Linked DNA regions of Homo sapiens: regions 1, 2, 3, 5, 6 and 7 are each linked to region 4. The links are contacts of gene promoters, found by promoter capture Hi-C in blood cells and fetal thymus (Javierre and others, 2016). All regions are on one chromosome and are shown on one strand. The core of a region is centred on a gene start or on the middle of the fragment in contact, and the rest is flanking DNA. Distances in the headings are between cores, read along the strand shown.

Region 1 (2,700 bases), core at 108-2,607, 1.7 Mb before region 4:
ATTGTATTTCAAATAAATAAAATAATCACACTGAAAGATCGGAAAAAAAGAACTAACCCAAGTAACTTCTGAATACAGTATTGAGTACACACCCTTGTCTGGGAGCAGGGGAGAGGAAGAGGAAGGACTGAAAACAAATCCTAAGCCATTTTTAGTAAGCTGGTTTGGGGGTGGAGACAATGGTATGAAAGGAACATTTCTGAAATTATTTTAAATGACTGTAAGATTAAGCAAATGACAAAATGTGTTGATGACAGAAGTCAGGATTCTAACTGTGGAAGAAAGAAGATATAATATAGAGTAGAAGAAAGGAAGAGCCTTGGAAGAATGGCATGGAATTAGAGAATCAGGTGTGAACACATTAACATCATGTGTGCACGCTTATACTTCCTAGCTCTGCCACTGAAAAAGCTCAAAAGCAATGAGACCCTGGTAGCAATAAACATGCCTAATATCCAGAGCCTACTAAAGGGAACCAGAGCTCCTTTGACAGATGACTAATTTCAACAGTAGGGCAGGGAAAGTATAAAATAAACCTGGAATATTTTGTTGGAACAGAAAATAAAAGAGGTACTCAAAAAAAGTGATGAGGACATGTCAAAGGGACACAAGAAGTAGCCAATGGGGCTCCCAATGGCCATACCTGGAACAACTTTAGCATTAACATAATTAGAAGGAAAAATGAATTATAAATCATTGGAGGAACATAAGTATCAAAGGGTTCATACTGATTATATAAACATCAATATATGTGCAAAAGGGAGCGATCTTCCTTATAGACGCATGCCAAGTGTCAAATGATGTATGTGGAAGGAGTGCTATTGTTGAACAATCATCAATTTGCAAATAACATGGTGAAGATTGTTTTGGGCAAGAACCAACGATAGATGCTAAATCTTGTAGGAAAATTTTAATGAGAAGCAGAATGTTTACATGATTTTAAAAGGTTCTTCCCATAGGCTGCTTATAAGAGGAAAAATAACTACACTGTGGAGAAAATAAATGACATTTTGACTGACTGATCAAAATCAACATCACCAGTGAGGGGCAGACAAAAGGGACTATGACTATGAGGGCCTGAGAAGCACACATCACCACCTATACAGAATTCTGAGCAGGCATGTATATCCTGAACCTAATCGTAAGGAAACATTAGACAGGCCAAAATGAAGAACATTCTAATAAAAAAAGGGGTGAAGAGGCTCTATTGTCCAAATATGCCAATGTCATATAAGACAAAGACTGAGAAACTGTTCTAGATCAAAAGAGAGTAAAGCCATATGGATGGCAGATTAATGTATTCCATCAGTATTAAATTTTCTAGCTTGACATATGTACTGTGGTTAATAAAAGAGCGTCCTTATTCTTAGTTTAAAAAAAAAAACTGAAGTTTTTAGGGGTAAAAGAACTTAATGTATGCAACTTACAATCAAATTTAAGTTGAGTTTTCTGAAAAAACAACTACATTGTTTTCAGGAAAAAAAAATGTAGAGAGAAAACCAACGACAAAGCAAATAAGGCAAAATGTTAATAACAGATGAGGCTGAGTGTGTGTAAAAATTCTTTGTACTATTTTTGTAAACTAACCATTAGCTTGAAAGTATTTTCAAACAAAAAGTTAAAAAAAAGGAAAGGCAAATCTTACATTTCTCAGTGCTTCATAAACAGCTCTAAATGCTGGTTGCTTATCGTCATGGTAAACACCTCTGTTCCCATGAAGAATAAAGATTCCTCCTTCTTCTGCTTCTTGGCAATTGCTTCCATATATACAATGATCTGGTCGATAATTCCATTGACACGGAAAAACAAAAAGGCTTTCTACATAAAGAAAAGACCAAACAATGAAGCAAATACCCCTAATTCCACAGATGTAACATTATGCAAAACTTTCAGTTAAAAAATACAGCTCTTACAAGTAAGAATTAATGAAAAATGTCTGGCATTTAGATCTCTTCCAATTAAAGCAAAATTCAAGAAAAGTTTTACTCCGTCTTAAACATAAATAGCAATAATCATTAATATAAGACAGAATCAGATAAGTGCATGTTTTCCTTTTTCACTAAGTATTATCTGTGATTTTTTTAATGCAAATAAAAGGAATTTAAATAATTACCTGGATTATGAAAAAACACGATATTCAATAGATCTTGATCACCCCATGTGATGTTTAGTTTGTATTTTTTAAGCAATGGCATAAGTATATCTCCCCATTGTAGTCGTACAGTTGTCATATCATTCTGTTGATAAAAACATTCAAAAGAGCTTCAGACTTTCAGGCTTAAAATGGCAGCATGATGACAGTTCCTCATTCTTCCCACAGCAACCATTACAAATCCACAAAGAGAAATGCAAACTCCTCACAATATCAAGTGACATTTCTAACCCTAAATGTGAGAAGGGCTGTACAGTAAAACAGAAGATAACAAAAGGAAGTTGTATGTGGCAGTGACAAAACTAGTAAGTCACGAAAGAAAGCGAAAGTAACTGTGTCCTTATCTTAAAATGAAGATAGTTTTGGTACCTACGTCTGGGCCTACGTCAGAGTTGTTGATGATTAAAATTGTTAATATATAAATTTAAAGTGCTTGGAATAGCACCTGACACGTGGTAAATATTCAGTGTTAGCTATTATTATTTTTTACCATGATGGCTATTAGTCTGATTTATTTGCTTAACTTCTATAATTGGCAGTTCAAATAG
Region 2 (2,700 bases), core at 133-2,632, 1.6 Mb before region 4:
CAGGAGGTAGAGGTTGCAGTGAGCCAAGATTGCACCACTGTACTCCCGCCTGGGTGACACAGTGAGATTCTGTCTCCAAAAAAAAAAAAAAAAAAAGAATAGAAAAGAAAAGAGAATCCAGAAACAAGTCCACACAGCTACAATGAATTCATTTTTGACAAAGGTGCCAACAATATACAATGGGAAAAGACAATCTCTTCAATAAATGGTGCTGGGAAAACTGGATATCCATATGCATAAGAATGAAACTAGACCCCTATCTCTCACCGTATACAGAAATCCAATCAAACTGGATTAAAGACTTAACTCTAAGACCTCAAACTATGAAATTACTAAAAGAAAACATTGGGGAAAATCTCCAGGACCTTGGTCTTGGCAAAAATTTCTTGAGTAACACCCCAAAAGCACAGGCAACCAAAGCAAAAATGGACAAATGGAATCATATCAAGTTGAAAAGCTTCTGCACAGCAAAGGAAACAACAACATGAGGAAACCCACAGAATTGGAGAAAATATTTGCAAACTACCCCTCTGACCAGGGATTCATAACCAGAATATATAAGGAGCTCAAGCAACACTCTGTAGGAAAAAAAAATCTAATAATCCAATCAAAATATGGGCCAAATGTTTGAATAGACATTTCTCAAAAGAAGATGTACAAATGGCAAACAGGCATATGAAAAGGTGCTCAAGATCACTGATCATCAGAGAAATGCAAATCAAAACTACAATGAGATATCATCTCACCCCAGTTAAAATGACTTTTATCCAAAAAACAGGCAATAACAAATGCTGGCAAGGATGTGGAGAAAAGGGAATCCTTGTACATTGTTGGTGGGAATGTAAATTAGTACAACCACTATGGAGAACAGGTTGGAGGTTCCTCAAAAAAAAAACTAAAAATTGAGCTACCATAGTATCCAGCAATCCCATTGCTGGGTATATACCCAAAAGAAAGGAAATCAGTATATTGAAGAGATATCTGCACTCTGGTGTTTATTACAGCACTGTTTACAATAGCTAAGATTTGGGAGCAAAGTAAATGTCCATCAACAGATGACTGGATAAAGAAAATGTGGTACATACAAACAATGGAGTACTACTCACCCATAAAAAACATGAGTTCCAGTCATTTGCAACAACATGGATGGAACTGGAGATGATTATGTTAAGTGAAATAAGCCGGGGTCAGAAAGACAAAAATCCCATGTTCTCACTTATTTGTGGGATCTAAAAATTAAAACAGTTAAACTCATGGAGACAGATAGTAGAAGGATGGTTACTAGAGGCTGGGAAGGGTAGATGGTGGGGGTGGTGAGGATAGTTAATGAGTACAAAAAAATAGAATGAATAAGACCTTCTATTTGATAACATAATTGTACATTTAAAAATAACTAAAAGAGTATAATTGGATTGTCAGTAACACAAAGGATAAATGCTTGAGGAGATGGATACTCCAATCTCCATGATGTGATTATTATGCATTACATGTCTGTATCAAAACATCTCATGTACCCTGTAAATATATACACCTATGTACCCACAGAAATTAAAAATTAAAAAACAAAATGTGTTCACCGTCATTTTCTTTGTCCTTTAGAAGTCTTCTCCCAAACTAGTTTTATAACCTTCCAACTCTTCCCATTCTTGCTGACTCCAAAAGTAAACACAGGACCATTTTATTGTTGGATTATGAATTAAAAGAGGATAATGAAAATAATATCCATTTAGTTTCTGAATTTTCTTGCTAAAAGATTTATTAGAAAAATGATGATGAGGTGGTAGCTTTCATCCAAACTCCCTTCTTCCAGGTAGGTCAGCCGATTTAAATCTAGATGTAATCTAAAGACCTACTAAAACTGTATGTATTATTTCCACTCCTCAGGAATTCCAGATGGGGAGGTATGTATCTCACTGGATCCTTGCCCCAAATAGTTCCCCTAGGAGTTTATTCTTACAACTTGAAATAAGGAAGATTTTTTTTTTAAATACTATTTGGCCTGATTTACACTAGATATTTGTGGCCATTTATAAAAACAAAAGAAAAACAAGTAGATAAAAATCAAACTCTGGAAAAATACAAAAAAGATCAAGAATAAGAAATTAGATTAAAATAGAAAAAGAGCCACCACCAGCCTCCATGGCTCACACCTATAATCCCAATACTTTAGGAGGCCAACTCGAGAGGATGGCTTGAGCCCAGGAGTTCAAGACCAGCCTGGGCAATGTTGTGAAACCCAATATTTATAAAAAATACGAAAAGAAGAAGAAAAAATTATATTTCACAATTTATTATTTGTCATGATGTGAAGCTTGAATCTTTATATTAAATCTTTTCCTCTGATTAAAAAAAAGACTAAAAAGTTAGAATGCAGATAAGCAGACAACCAAGGCTACATAATTATTAAAACTGAACTCAATTTTTTTTTTTTTTTTTTTTTGAGATGGAGTCTCGCTCTGTCACCCAGGCTGGAGTGCAGGGGTGGGATCTCTGCTCACTGCCACCTCCATCTCCTGGTTTCAAGCAATTCTCCTGCCTCAGTCTCCCAAGTAGCTGGGATTACAGGTGCCTGCCACTATGACCAGCTAATTTTTTGTATTTTTAGTAGAGACGGGGTTTCACCGTATTGGCCAGGCTGGTCTCGAACGCCCGACCTCAGGTGATCTGCCCACCTCGGCCTCCCAAAGTGCTGGGATTACA
Region 3 (2,700 bases), core at 4-2,503, 1.7 Mb before region 4:
CATCTCTAGAAATTAGACAGTAAACTGAGAAGAACAGATAGAAAAGAGAATTAAAACTCCTTATGTTAAAAACAGCAACAAATTGTTGAATTAAACATAGTAAGTTGAACTCACATATTTACCTTTGCTTCTTCACTAACCTCCACTAAAATGAAAGTGTGATGGTTAATTTTACATGTCAACTTGGCTGGGCTAAGGAATGCCCAGATAGCTGGCAAAACATTATTTCTGTGTGTGCCTGTGAGGATGTTTCTGAAAGAGGTTAGCATTTGAATCAGTAGAATGAGTAAGGAAAATTGCCTTCAGCAATCTGGGTGGCCATGATCAATCCATTAAGAGCCCAAATAGAAAAAAAAAAAATGTAGAGGAAAGGCAAATTCTCTCTCTTCTTGAGCTGGGATATCCATCTTCTCCTGCTTTTAGACAATGGAGGTCCCAATTCTCAGATCTTCAGCCTCGGATTGAATTGCACCACTGGCTTTCCAGGTTCTCCAGCTTGCAGAGGGCAGGTGGTTGCACTTCTCAGCCTCCATTATTGTGTGAGCTAATTCCCATAATAAATTTTCTCATGTATAATCCCTATTGGTTCTGTCTGTCTCTCTGGAGAACTCTGATAAACACAGATAGTAAAAGAGGAAAGGCATAAACCCACATGAACAAAGAAAACTGGAAGAGAGATAAATGCAGCAACAAAAATTTGAAAACTGGAAAGCAAATGAAGAAGTTATTATCCTCTTCTCTGCCTAAATGTAAGCAGGCAATGGGGAAATCCCAGAAATAAGCTATCTGAATTTTTAAAATCCTGGGGAAATATCAGGAACTGAAGCATAAGGTGCCACTGAAAGCAAGGGAACTGATAGACTTAATGCATGAGAACTAGCTGAAAGTTCATATAAGATGCTGCTAGACCACAGCCATCTATTTCACCCTTCCTCCCCCTTCATCCCACCCCCACCACTCCCACACCTGCCCTCCACCTTTTGCCACCATATAACGCCATTCCTCCACTATGGCAGAAGCCTGGAGTTTAACTGGTTAGAGAGTTCGACCAAAAAGACTGAATTTGGGTACACTGTGCTTCACAGAGAATGAGGGGTATTCTACCAAAAAAAGACGGGAGGTGGTTTAAGTGAAAGGCAACAACCCCTTTCCCCTACTTAGATTCCAAAACATGGCAGTCAGTTTCAAACCACATAAACAAGAGTTTCTTAGGAATCTGACCAGTACTCCCCACCCCCCAAAAAAGACCTATACATACTGAGAGTCAGGGGCTCCCAATAAAACAGTACAAATAGATTACTGTATTATAGAGTCTATTAGGTAATAAATCCCACCCATGCATAGAGTTTCCCATCAGCTTTTAGGTAGCTCGATATTAAATATGAGAAGATAGTCAAGAATCATCAGTCATTAGAAATATTCAATCTAACATGAAAGACAGAGGTCAAAACAAAGAATAAAAAGAAACTGTGACTGAGCTAATACAAAATCATTAATATCCATGGAAAGATAAGAGTGCATCCTTGAAACAAGAACAATATGCTATTAAAAAGGACATTCAGAGAACAAAAAAAAATTCTTGGAAATTAAAAATATGAAAACTAATTAAAAACTCAATAGAGGCTGAGTGCGGTGACTCACGCCTGTAATCCCAGCACTTTAGGAGGCTGAGGCAGGCAGATCACCTGAGGTCAGGAGTTCAACACCAGCTTGGCCAACATGGCGAAACCCCGTCTCTACTAAAAATACAAAAATTAGCCAGGCATGGTGGTGCACGCCTGTAGTCCCAGCTGCTCAGGAGGCCGAGGCAAGAGAATCTCTTAAACCTGGGAGGTGGGGGTTGCAGTGAGCCGAGATTGCACCACTGCACTCCAGCCTGGGCAACAGAGTGAAACTCCGTCCCAAAAAGAAAAAGAAAAGAAAAAAAAAAAGCACCTCAATAGAAGTTTGGAAGTAGGAGAGAAATTATAGGTTTATTAGAGAACTAGCCCAGGCTATGAAATGTCTGAAAAATACATGTTCCAGAAAGAGAGATAAAAAGTGAAAGGAAAGTATTCAAGACAATTTCCCAGAAATAAAGGTTCAAATGTCAAATGTCCAAATCAAAAGTTTTTTAAGTACCCAGCACAATGAAGGAGAAAAGGCTCATCCCCATGTTCATCATCATGAAATTTCAGAACTCCGAGAATTACCCAGTGGAATGAAGATCTCCAGGAGAAAAGACTTTAATGGTTTCCAGAAAGACAGGCCATAAACAAGAGTTCAAGAATCAGAGTTCCATCAGACATCTCAATAACAATATTACAATTTAGAAGACAATAGAACATATGCCTTCCACATTTAAAGGACAGTTGCTGTCCAAATTAGAGTTCTATACACAGCCAAATTATCCAACATGGGAACTCTAGAACAAACACATTTTTTAGGTGTGCAAGATGGGACACTGATTGTTGCCCTTCAATAGCTTTCTTCTTCTTTCTGTCCTCCTCCTCCTTCTTCTTTTTCTTCTTCTTCTCCTTCTCCTTCTCCTTTGCCTTCTGTAGTAAACATGACAAATTCTATCTGGACCCATGAAGATCCAGAATATGTAAAAATTTTCCAACTTTCATTCTAGCTAGATGTGTCCATGTGACTAAGCTTTGGGCCAAAAGTATGTAAGTAGAAGTAATTGATGGTACTCCCCAAAAGTTTTATTAAAAG
Region 4 (2,700 bases), core at 69-2,568:
GTGATTCTCTTTCACAAAACCCTATTTAATTTTCTGCATAGCAGTTCTAGGTAAAGTTTTTCTTTATTATTTATTGTATATCTCCTCCAAAGAGAATGTTAGTTCCACGTGAGGAGTAACCTTGTCTGCCTTATTTACTACTGATGATCACACATTTTGAACAGTGTCAAGCACATGGTAGGTCTGCAATAAATACTATTGTTAAATAAATGAAATAACTAGTACAAAATAAGAGCTGTAGGAATGAAGTGGAAGATAATTAGAAGAGGCATAATGCAAGAAGTGGCCATCTAAGTCCTCCATAGTTCAAGAGATAGAAATGAGGCAGAGACCTCACAAGTAATGTACAAACAAAACATGCAATGTGTGCAAGAAAAACAAGCAGTCCAGATACAGAGCAGTGGGGATGGGAATGCAGGGAGACTACAGTGCTGGAAAATGTAGCTGAGTTAGTACCAGATTATGGAAGATGTTGAATGCCCTGACAAGGACTTAGAATCTATTGGGTGGTCAATGGATGGCTACTGTTAGTGTTTGAGTAGAAAAGTGACACAATTCCAAAACATGCTTTTGGAATTGTAAGATGATTCTGATGGAAATGAGCAAGATGTATCCGATGGAGTAACAGTTAGAGGAGTTCAAAAACAAAACAGCATGGTCAAGAACATAGCTGTAGGGATTGGCCCTGAAAGAATAATGATCTTTTCTTTCTCCCAGAAAAAAGGAGGAAGACAGACATTCTAAGCAAGTGAAACAGGTAGGGAAACTTGGGGAGAATGTAATTCCAGCATCCTGGTAGAAGAGTGGAACTGACCTGGAGGACAGCAAAGGAGCCCACGTGGCGTTAAGCCTGAAGGTGCAGTATTCCCATTCAACAGAGACTGCTGCTGACAGTGGGCGGGGGAGTAGTTTGCTTGGCCCGTGGTTGAGGAATTCGTTGGCGGAGGAGGGATCCTGAGAAGGTACTAGAAATACTGAACCCAGTCCTGCAGAAGCTACTTAACTTCACAGAAAACTAGGGCGTCGTTGCCCTCCAGCACGTCCAAAGGTGTCCCCGACAAGGCCAGCAGCTCTACCTGTTTCTTCTCCCTCCTCTTACTCTGCCTGTCCAAAGGCACGACACTAGTCCACGTCACCTTTCTTTGGGCGCAAAGGGTATGGATCCTCAATGCCAACCTCGTCACCCCCCCCCCCCACACACACACACACACACACACATACAAGCCCACCATCGCGCAAGAAACTCGACCCCGTCTACCTCGGTTCAGTGGAAGGCATTCATTTGCACAACGCTGTGCGCATGCCCGGAAGCCTTAAGTGTTTCAGCCTCCGACAGGGGCGTAATTAAAGGGGCAGGCGCCCACGTAAAGACGCGCCCTACGCAATACGTGGAGTTTCTCACTTTGTGGAGCCGCCTGGAGGCGCCAAGATGAAGCCCATCGGGGAAGTGGGGCGGGGCCAACCCGGCAGGCCCCGCCCCTTCGCGGCGCTTCCTAGTTCGGCTGGTTCTTCTGTCGCCGGCTTCAGCAGCCCGCGCCCGGGCAGGTAAGGCATTCCCCGCCTTAATGCCTCGGTCAAACGTCGTCCGAGGTCCGCTTCCAGGCCTCGGCACCTCTGCCCCAGGGTTGCTGGGGTCGGCTGCGGAACGGAAATCTCTTTATCATCCGTGAGAAAAGTTAGAGAGGAAGTGGGTTCCTTTGACAGAGCTTACTCCAGAAGAAAGACTTGGGTAGGTCCCCGGTAATCAAGAAGTTCGTCGGCCCTGAGGAAGAGCCTGAGGCTTGGAGGGACGTCACCCAGCTGTTCTGGGGCGCAGTCGGACCTCAAGTTTCTCACCTCTCAGGCCCTGGATTCCGTGAACCCGACTGCGAAATGAAGTCTCTTTTCCCCAGAACCAGGAAGTCAGGCCAGCACCTGACAGATGCCTGTGGCGCCAGCAGCTCGCTGAGCCTCCACACGATTGTAATTCGCTTGTTTCTCCGGCCTCCAAGCTTCCAGGGAATTAGAAAGTGGAGGCGGCTTATGGGATCAGATGAGTACATTCGCAGATGGGGGAAAAAAGTGTACCTGTCAGCTTGGAAGCCAGAGGGAGACAAAGGGATAAAAGCAAACCCTGTCCAGGTGCGGTGGCTCATGCTTGTAATCCCAGCACTTTGGGAGGCCCAGGCGGGCGGATCGCTTGAGGTCAGGAGTTCGAGACCAGCCTGGCCAACATGGTGAAACCCCTGTCTCTACTAAGATACAAAATTTAGCTGGCATAGTGGCGGGCGCCCGTAATGCCAGCTACTCCGGGGGCTGAGGCAGGAGAATCGCTTGAACCCAGGAGGCAGAGGTTGCAGTGAGCCGAGATCGTGCCACTACACTCCAGCCTGGGCAACAGAGGGAGACTCCGTCTCAAAAGAAAAAAAAAAAAAAAAAAGCAAACCCTGAGAAAGCGAGAAAGCACTTTGAGCATTTAGAATGGGAACAAACGGCGCTATTAGTGCTTCAAAAACGTAACTGCCCAAGGCCCCTGGTAAGCAGAGGATACTAAAATCTGCCTTTTCCCTTTCTTGGAGTGGTCCTTGAAGAGGGCTATCGGGAAGTTCAAATTTCTTCTGTTTTCCTGCAGAGCGTTCATTTGAAGTTTGCTTTCTACCTCTCCAAACTGAGCTTCTGATATTCCAGGCCAAACTTGCTCCTTCCTCAGCCTTCTCTATC
Region 5 (2,700 bases), core at 177-2,676, 2.0 Mb after region 4:
CAGCAAATACAGGCAGAGCAAGTAAGCACAAAGGAGAACAGGAAGATGGCAGTGTAACCTGGCTACACCATTGCAAACATTCTGATGAATGCCATCCATGAACACAAGCACACACTACTACTCACAAAACGGTAATACATTCATATACATCCCCAGGCATTCCCAATTAGTGAATAATTATATTTGAAGCCTACTTTAAATTAATATGGGCTGACCATGGTGACTCACGCCTGTAATCCCAGCACTTTAGAAGGCCAAGATGGGCCAATGGCTTGGGCATGCAGATTGCTTGAGCTCAGGAGTTTAAGACCAGCCTGGGCAGCATAGCAAGACCCCTGTCTCTATAAAAAAATACAAAAATTAGCCAGGTGTGGTATGGTGCGTGCACCTGTAGTCCTAGCTATTCAGGAGGTGGAGGTGCGAGTGTTGCTTGAGCCTAGGGTGCAGAGGTTGCGAGCCGAGACTGCGCTACTGCACCCCAGCCTGGGCAACAGAGTGAGACTCCGCCTCAAAAATAAATAAATAAATACATCAACTAATGTAATCCCCCATCCATCCATTTTCAATACATGGCAAACCAAAAAAACAGTTACATGCATTTAATCTAAAATTTTCTGTAAGAATATATTGTATGTAGTTCTTTAGAAATAGATTTTTGCTTATTTGCCATAATTTTTTTAATTTGATGAACTGAAGTGGTATTCCTTAACTACAATTTCAAAATGTTTTTCCCTACAGGCCAACAACCCACAAAATAAAATGCTGCACCTGAAGCAATCCTCCAAACTTACTATCTGTCATTAGCAAATAGAGCTTTAACCTTTTGGGCATCACAGGGTCTTTAAGATGCCCGTGCCTGCTGAGAACTTCTCCCTAGAAAAATGCAGTAAACACATTCCGTTTCATAGGGCTCCTGGACTTGTTGAACACTATACATAGGCCACAAGTAGAATATATTGTCCAGCTGGGAATATACTATTATTTCAAAAGTCTCTTAGGAATTGGCAGCAAGAAGTGTATGTGCAATGGGTACAAATCCACCCAGGGTTTTGTAGTTGTGATATTACTACTATTTTTGGTGGCCTCAACTTTAATGGAGCAGAAAAACAACTGAGGTTAGCAAATAGCAGCGTAAAGGATGGATTCAGCTCACTGGGAAGAAAAAAAATTCCTGCATACCCTAAAGAAACAGAAGCTTCTTTTCAGTTTCCAGAGAACCAGAAGGACCATCATTTATTTAACTTCTGATTAACTTTGAGTATGATAAGTAGGAAATATCTTTAAATGGGGTTAAAATTAATAGACATTAGAAACAGAAACTACACTCTTATTTAAGCTATCAGTAATCATTAATGGCTAAATGTTATGAGTATTGTTAATAAGAGGGAAATTCAGTTATAAAAATATAGCACAATACTCTAAAAATTTCATCTTTGTTTAAAATACTTGGAGGCAGTGTAGTTAAATGCAAAATATTATGTCAGTTATTTTGTACACCTGAAGGACTGTTTATAAATGTTTCTCATACATTATCATGCAAAGATTATTCTAGAATACTTGAGTTCTACATACTACAAATCATGTTAAAGAATCATAGCACCTTTAAAAAATTGTTTACACTGAACTGTTGGATAGAATTTCCCTTAATGTATAGCAATAAGCTTCAACAATTTACAGTGGCTCAGGTTGAATATCTATTTCGATGCTATATATGAAGAGTTTGATATGTTTTCAGAGAAAAGCAAAAGCTAAATAACTTATTATTAAGTCAACACTACTGACTCATGTAGTTATTAAGGAAACTATATATACTTTAATGAAACCTAATTATTACACAATTTTACATTTCAGCTTAATTCCTATTTTATTGTTTTGCCAACAAGACTGCCAACTCCTTAAGCATTACAGCTAGTCAAGAATTAAATCTGCATTAAATACAGAATTAATTTGTCTTTGGGGTTTAATTTTTTTTAATTAATAGCAAAGTGCCATGTCAAGAAGAGTCAATGTACCAAAAAATTAAAACAGAAAATCAAAATTCATTAAAACAATTTGTTTGCTCAGTAGTATATTTTTTTTACATTCACTGAACATTCCCTTGCCTTTCCCATAATTAAAAAGTTAATTATTGGAATCATATTTTTTGTAGATCCCAGTTTTCAAACAATGTGATTTAAATGCTTGTTATTAACATTACAACACTTTGAGTAACACTGATCCTAACACTAAAGTGATGCTGTTTTGTACATAATTAAATTTGTTACCATTCTAAACAGAATTTTAAATTTAACTCTGTGGTAAAGACCCTGCTTAAGTATTAAAAGTTAGGAACCCTCCAGTCTGAATATTTTTATAACTTTTTTTGTTTTAAGAGACAGAGCCTCGAACTCCTCGGCTCAAGGGGTCCTCCTGCCTCAGCCTCCTGAGTAGCTGGGACTACAGGTGTGTACCACTGTGCCCAGCTTCATTATAACCTTTTAAAGGTAGCAGTTAAGTTTCTTGAGGGTCAAGTCATTCTCCCTCCCCCCATCTCTTGTCCAAATATTCAAGAAATATTTACTCAGTGATTTAGTAATCTACATTTAGTAAACTTACATTTAGTAAGTTACAAATATATTTATTACTAAATATAGATTACCATTAATAAATAGTTCCTTGGTTTAGTATGTTCTCTTAAAGTTTTCAGAAGCTATTAAATAC
Region 6 (2,700 bases), core at 8-2,507, 1.6 Mb before region 4:
CTTACAAGGGCAGTGTTACAGAATAAATATTTTTGTGCAATTAAGAAATAAAACAACTGATATGGTTTGGCTCTGTGTTGCCACTCAAATCTCATCTCAAATTGTAATTCCCACGTGTCAAGGGAGGGACCTAGTGGGAGATGACTCGATCATGGGGGCCGTTTCCCCCTTACTGTTCTTGTGATAACCATCAGTTCTCATGAGGTCTCATGGTTTAAAAGTGTGGTCTTCTTTCTCTTTCTCTCTCTTCTGCTGCCATGTAAGACATGCCTTACTTCCCCCTTTGCCTTCTGCCATGATTCTAAGTTTCCTGAGGCCTCTCCAGCAATGCTGAACTGTGAGTCAATTAAACTTTTCTTTATAAATTACCAAGTCTCAGGTAGTTATTTCTAGCAATGTGAACAGACTATTACAACAACATTCTATTATAGTATATTATTAAATATTCAACTCTACAACCTTGACTATGTCTCAAATACTTACTCTGCCTTTAAAGCTATGATGTAGCTGATCTTCAGCAAAAATATGGAATTGAAGAGGTTTGATGCTGAAAATGATAGCTGACTTCAACATGGTCATAGTTTCTTCCAGTCTTTCACCACAGGCAACTACAGCTAGATGCATTTTCTCAACAGGCTGTATTTTCAGACTGTACCTAATAGGAAAGAAAACCACATTTTTCAACAGTTTTAGTATATGTTTACAATGTGTACTTTCATCATGCTCAAAAAGTGAAGCTCAAAGCCAGATGTTGTGACTCATGCCTGCAGTCCCAGCTACACGGGAAGCTAAGGCAGGAGGATCACTTGAAACCAAGAGTTCAATGCTGCAGTAAGCTATGACTGCATCACTATACTCCAGCCTGGGCAACAGAGCCAGACCCTGTGAAAGACAGAGAAGAAAGAAAGGACAGAAAGAGAAGAAAGAGAAAGGGAAAGGCAAAGGGAAAGGGAGGGAGGGAAGGAAAAAAAAAAGAAAGAAAGAAAAACTGAAGTTCAAAATTTTTATTTATAAAACAAACTAGGCCAAGTCTGTAATCCCAGAGCTTTGAGAGACCAAGGCAGCAGGGTCACTTCAGTCCAGGAGTTCAAGACCAGCCTAGGCAACATACCGAGATCCCATCCCTACAAAAAATACAAAAATTAGCCAGGAGTGGTGGCATGCACCTGTAGCCCCGGCTACTCAGGAGGCTGACATGGGAGGATATTTTGAGCCCAGAAGATAGAAGCTGCAGTGAGCTGTAATTGTGCCACTTTACTCCAGACAGAGCAAGATCCTGTCTCAAAAAAAAGAATGTATTTATTTAAAAAATAAGAAAAGGGCAAACATCAAATTACAAAACATTTTAAAAATGTTGAATCAATCACGTATTTCCACACTCTCAACCAGCTCTTCTCACCAATTTTCCTCCTTTCAAACTACAGAACACACAAAAAATGACAACTTTCTCAATTCTCCCAAGAATACATAACTAGCACCACTGTGGCTGCCAGTAAATAAATTAATTCATTACTCACATTAGATGCCTTAGGAAATCAGAGCTTAACTCTCTCAAGGAACCCATTGAGAAAGATAGATTTGAAGGTCTTTCATTCAATTTTTTAAAAACATTGTTATTAAAAAAAAACCCTTAAAAACATTCTTACTTCATATGAAACCTCTCCCCATACCACCTCTCACCAACCAACAGTTCACTGTAAAGCAAACCCAGTCATAATTTCATCCATAAATGTTTCAGTATTACATTCAATCTTAAACCATGCTGACTACAAGAAAAAATGTCCTTCACATTAATAACACACATTCATTCCCATTTACCAAATATCTAGGAAGATGTAAACACTTCTGAGATGGTCTAAAACATGCTAGTCAAACACTAGTATGTCTTTAGAATCTACTTCTAACACAGTGCAGCAGTGGATACCAACAGGCTTAAGTAACTTTTAATACCTCTTGCTTCTGCTGTGCCACTTCTTTCACGTCTGGTGTTAGCATTAGCTTCGGTCTTTTTACTTTTTTTTCCTTCTTTTTAGAGACAGGGTCTCACTCTATCACCCATGATGGAGTACAGTGGTGCATTCATAGCTCACTGCAGCCTCAACCTCCCAGGCTCAAGCCATCTTCCCATCTCAGCCTCCCAAGCAGCTGGGACCACAGATGTGCGACCACCATGTCCAACTAATCTTTTTTTTTATTTTTTGTAGAGATGGGGTCTCACTATGTTGCCCAGGCTAGTCTCGAACTCCTGGCCTCAAGGGATCCTCCCACCTCAGCCTCCCAAAGTGCTGGGATTACAGGCATGAGCCAGCGCACCTGGCCAGTTTGGGTCTTTTTAAAGCTCTCTATTATTTTCTGTTGGCTGTAATTAGAAAGAAGCAATGTCTCTTCCCTTGTTTGTACCCTCTGTCCTTTGCCCTCTTTTGTGCTGAGCCCATCAGTTCATAACACTGAAACTAATGATGGAGGGGAGACTTTCTACTCTTTCTACGTCTATAAAGAGGGGACATGAATCCAGTTCATCTCAAAAACAGTGGAAGCCACAATGACAAGTTAAAAACTAGGCAATCAAGACATGACAATTTTTAGAGAATTCTAAATTACCTCATCTTTCCAGTAACTGCCTCCAGATCCTACTTGTCATTACAGCATCATGATTTAAGAATCAATAACAGGCTCGGATTGCTTTACTGGCCCATAGCT
Region 7 (2,700 bases), core at 157-2,656, 1.5 Mb before region 4:
TTAGAAATAAAAACTGATAAAAATCTAAATATATTAGTTCATTTAAAAAATAAATACATCACATATTAAATGACATATTTTTATTTTAAAAACTTATTATTTTCCAAAACAAAGATATTTTGTATGAAGAGTGGCATCGTATATTTTTGCAAACCTCTAACATCTGGTTAGTAGAAGACACCTGGATTGTCACATCTATCTCAGCATTCAATTTGTTGCAATATGTTGTTTTGGTCCAAAAATATTAAGAAAATCTGGACTCTCACAGATATACAGTTGAAAAGAGGTAAGTAGTTGAATAGCATTTTCAGATAACTATAGGTGTTATTCTTTGATACTACATAAAAACACAGTTGTTTCTCAAAGGTTAGTTGCAATATGAAATCTGAAACCACATCAATGAAGTTTTCAGTGTTCCCTTAAAATCTGTTGGTATTTTGTACTTTGATGGATTACCCATTACAGTTTTGTAAAATCATACATCGGTAACTAGGAACCATTTGTTTGCTGAGTTATGCGTAGCTTCCAAATGCTGACACATTTCATGGTGAAATATCAGAAATTATATTCATTGATACCACCACTAATCTTCTCAGAAAAGTCTTTATACACAGAAACTCTAAAGCTCATTGTTGCTACAAATTTTCAAAAATTCTAATTTTCACTTGAATGATTATCACTGGCAACATATAGTATCAAGTGTTTTCCTTGAAGTGATATATTTTTTGAATATATTCATTTTCAAGAAAATATATGCTAAATATCCAAGTCTGAATAACTATGGTATTTCAGGTAGTCTTTCAAGTAAAAATGATGCTCTATGACAAAAAGACTAGCTCTGCTTGCAAGACAAACTACACATGTGCTTTCCCTTAACCACTGTACTTTGGTATACAGTAGAAGTGCTTTATGTGTAGTTCCCATTTGGTCAGACAGAATATTTTTAAAAATATGAGATGTAATAAAATTAGTAAATTTTTCTGCTTCAAGGATATTCTTAATTCAAACTGACATTATTCTTACTGCATGCATGTACATGGTGGTGAATATTACAATGAAGATAGCAATTTGGTGCCACTGCTTTGATTCATGCTAAGGTGCTGGCAGTTTTACCCATCACTGCCTCTGCACCATCACAGTGAAAAAGGCAAATAACATCTTCAAATTATTATAAAAACAGTGTGAACCTCATAGAAAGCTTCAACTAAAAAGATCTCAGGGACTCTCAGTGTCCCTCAGACTACACTTTGAAAACCACTCTGATATCCAGACTACACAAACACTAATAATCACTTGTAAAATTTACCCATATACAATTAACCAGTGTGAGTCCTCTTACAGGACAAAAAACAAACAAGTAAGAAATCTCCTAGAATAAGGAGTCTCTGAACAACTAAATGGTTGCTAGAAAGGCTCCTCAGATAGACAGGAGGCGGCTCAGGAACCATGCATTTCTTTAAAAAGGACTTATGTAGATGGTCCTCAATTTTTTTCTCCCATTCCTACACCAAAAGTCTAGAAGAATCAGTGCCAAACCTCAAATTTGAAGACATAAAGCAAGTATGACAAGAAAACAACGATGCTGAAAAGATTTCTACCAGATGATAGTTGGTTTAAGCTTCTTTCAGAATGTGGATTTTATAGCTTACTTTTAAAAGAAGCTGAAATAACTCACTCTTTTTACCTAACCATAATAATAATACTGTGTTCAGTTATAAACAACATATATTTTTAATGAAGAAGTTCCACCTCTTCAGCCTACACATAAAGGAAAGATCTACTAACACTAAACCTCACATATAGAGCTTGGTACAGTTAAAGCGGTTCTAATTTGCAAAACTGTAAAATTTTAAAGAAACAAAAAAATCCATTTTGCTCACCACTGTATGTCTAGTATCCAACTCAGCCCTTAAATAAGATGCTCAATAAACATTTGCTGAATGCTGAATATTGAAATGGTTGATATGAAATGAGATATGAACCCAGGTTACCAAAATCATACTAGTGTAACATCTAGCACTCTTTCTACTATGTGAAATCTTTTTTATAGCTCTCTAAAATAACACCTATGAGAAACCTAAAGGACTGTTATAATATCCTCTAACAAAATGTAACATTACCTGTTACATTTGAAAGCCTGGTATGAACCATTTAGACCACAGTTTGAAACCCAAACCAATAATTCTATCATTTTCATTTCTAAATATTTGCTATCTGAATTAAGCAATATTAAGTAACTGTCCACTACTAGATGAAGTACCAATAAGACACCAGTCTTAAATTAATCATCACACATTGATTATCACCCTCATACAGACTATCCTTAATATTTAATATTTCATTTTCTCTGATGACTCAGAATTTTGTTTTTTTGAGACAAGGTCTCACTCTGTTGCCCAGGCTGGAGTGCAGTGGTATGATCACAGCTCACTGCAACCTCGAACTCTGGGGCTCAAGGGATCCTCCCACTTCAGCCTCCTGAGTAGCTGGGACCACAGGCATGCACCACCACACCCAGCTAATTTTTTTAATTTTTAGTAGAGACGAGATCTCACTGTGTTGCCCAGGTTGGTCTCAAACTCCTGGCCTCAAGAAATCCTCCTGTCTCAGCCTCCCAAGGTGCTGGGCTTACAGGTGTGGGCCACTGGGCCAGCCAAGAATGATCCTTAATTTCCTAAAGTTTCTTGCATTTATATTTGG

The links. Contacts are between HindIII fragments. The CHiCAGO score rates a contact against its expected background, and 5 or more counts as called.
Region 1: a contact is called between a fragment that was not itself captured here and the fragment with the promoter of PUS7L in region 4, in 11 of 17 cell types (total B cells, monocytes, non-activated CD4 T cells and 8 more). The highest score is 11.0, in total B cells.
Region 2: a fragment that was not itself captured here is called in contact with the fragment with the promoter of PUS7L in region 4 in 2 of 17 cell types (monocytes and total B cells); the score reaches 8.7 in monocytes.
Region 3: a fragment that was not itself captured here is called in contact with the fragment with the promoter of PUS7L in region 4 in 2 of 17 cell types (monocytes and naive B cells); the score reaches 6.7 in monocytes.
Region 5: a fragment that was not itself captured here is called in contact with the fragment with the promoter of PUS7L in region 4 in 1 of 17 cell types (non-activated CD4 T cells); the score reaches 5.3 in non-activated CD4 T cells.
Region 6: a contact is called between a fragment that was not itself captured here and the fragment with the promoter of PUS7L in region 4, in 5 of 17 cell types (naive B cells, total B cells, monocytes and 2 more). The highest score is 12.1, in naive B cells.
Region 7: a contact is called between a fragment that was not itself captured here and the fragment with the promoter of PUS7L in region 4, in 4 of 17 cell types (fetal thymus, naive B cells, total B cells and 1 more). The highest score is 10.5, in fetal thymus.

The regions. Positions count from the first base shown.
Region 1 is chr12:42,095,797-42,098,496 of GRCh38, forward strand. It overlaps GXYLT1 (glucoside xylosyltransferase 1), which reads right to left. Exons shown (of 8, transcript NM_173601.2): 6 at 2,114-2,237; 7 at 1,646-1,818. Among named protein-coding and RNA genes, the nearest start is that of GXYLT1, 48 kb to the right of the region's middle. The HindIII fragment of the contact is 4,036 bases long and covers 1-2,700 here.
Region 2 is chr12:42,152,007-42,154,706 of GRCh38, forward strand. No RefSeq gene overlaps it. Among named protein-coding and RNA genes, the nearest start is that of GXYLT1, 8.5 kb to the left of the region's middle. The HindIII fragment of the contact is 1,854 bases long and covers 456-2,309 here.
Region 3 is chr12:42,059,519-42,062,218 of GRCh38, forward strand. No RefSeq gene overlaps it. Among named protein-coding and RNA genes, the nearest start is that of GXYLT1, 84 kb to the right of the region's middle. The HindIII fragment of the contact is 2,764 bases long and covers 1-2,635 here.
Region 4 is chr12:43,757,472-43,760,171 of GRCh38, forward strand. It overlaps PUS7L (pseudouridine synthase 7 like), which reads right to left and starts at 1,319. Exons shown (of 9, transcript NM_031292.5): 1 at 1,259-1,319. It overlaps IRAK4 (interleukin 1 receptor associated kinase 4), which reads left to right and starts at 1,480. Exons shown (of 12, transcript NM_016123.4): 1 at 1,480-1,545. RefSeq lists enhancers at 1,007-1,056, 1,397-1,506, 2,127-2,186. The HindIII fragment of the contact is 3,611 bases long and covers 1-1,989 here.
Region 5 is chr12:45,721,817-45,724,516 of GRCh38, forward strand. No RefSeq gene overlaps it. Among named protein-coding and RNA genes, the nearest start is that of LINC00938, 4.8 kb to the right of the region's middle. The HindIII fragment of the contact is 466 bases long and covers 1,194-1,659 here.
Region 6 is chr12:42,118,517-42,121,216 of GRCh38, forward strand. GXYLT1 (glucoside xylosyltransferase 1) reads right to left here. Exons shown (of 8, transcript NM_173601.2): 3 at 484-655. Among named protein-coding and RNA genes, the nearest start is that of GXYLT1, 25 kb to the right of the region's middle. The HindIII fragment of the contact is 4,362 bases long and covers 1-2,700 here.
Region 7 is chr12:42,231,157-42,233,856 of GRCh38, forward strand. The region is part of intron 2 of YAF2 (YY1 associated factor 2); the gene reads right to left. Among named protein-coding and RNA genes, the nearest start is that of YAF2, 5.7 kb to the right of the region's middle. The HindIII fragment of the contact is 420 bases long and covers 1,197-1,616 here.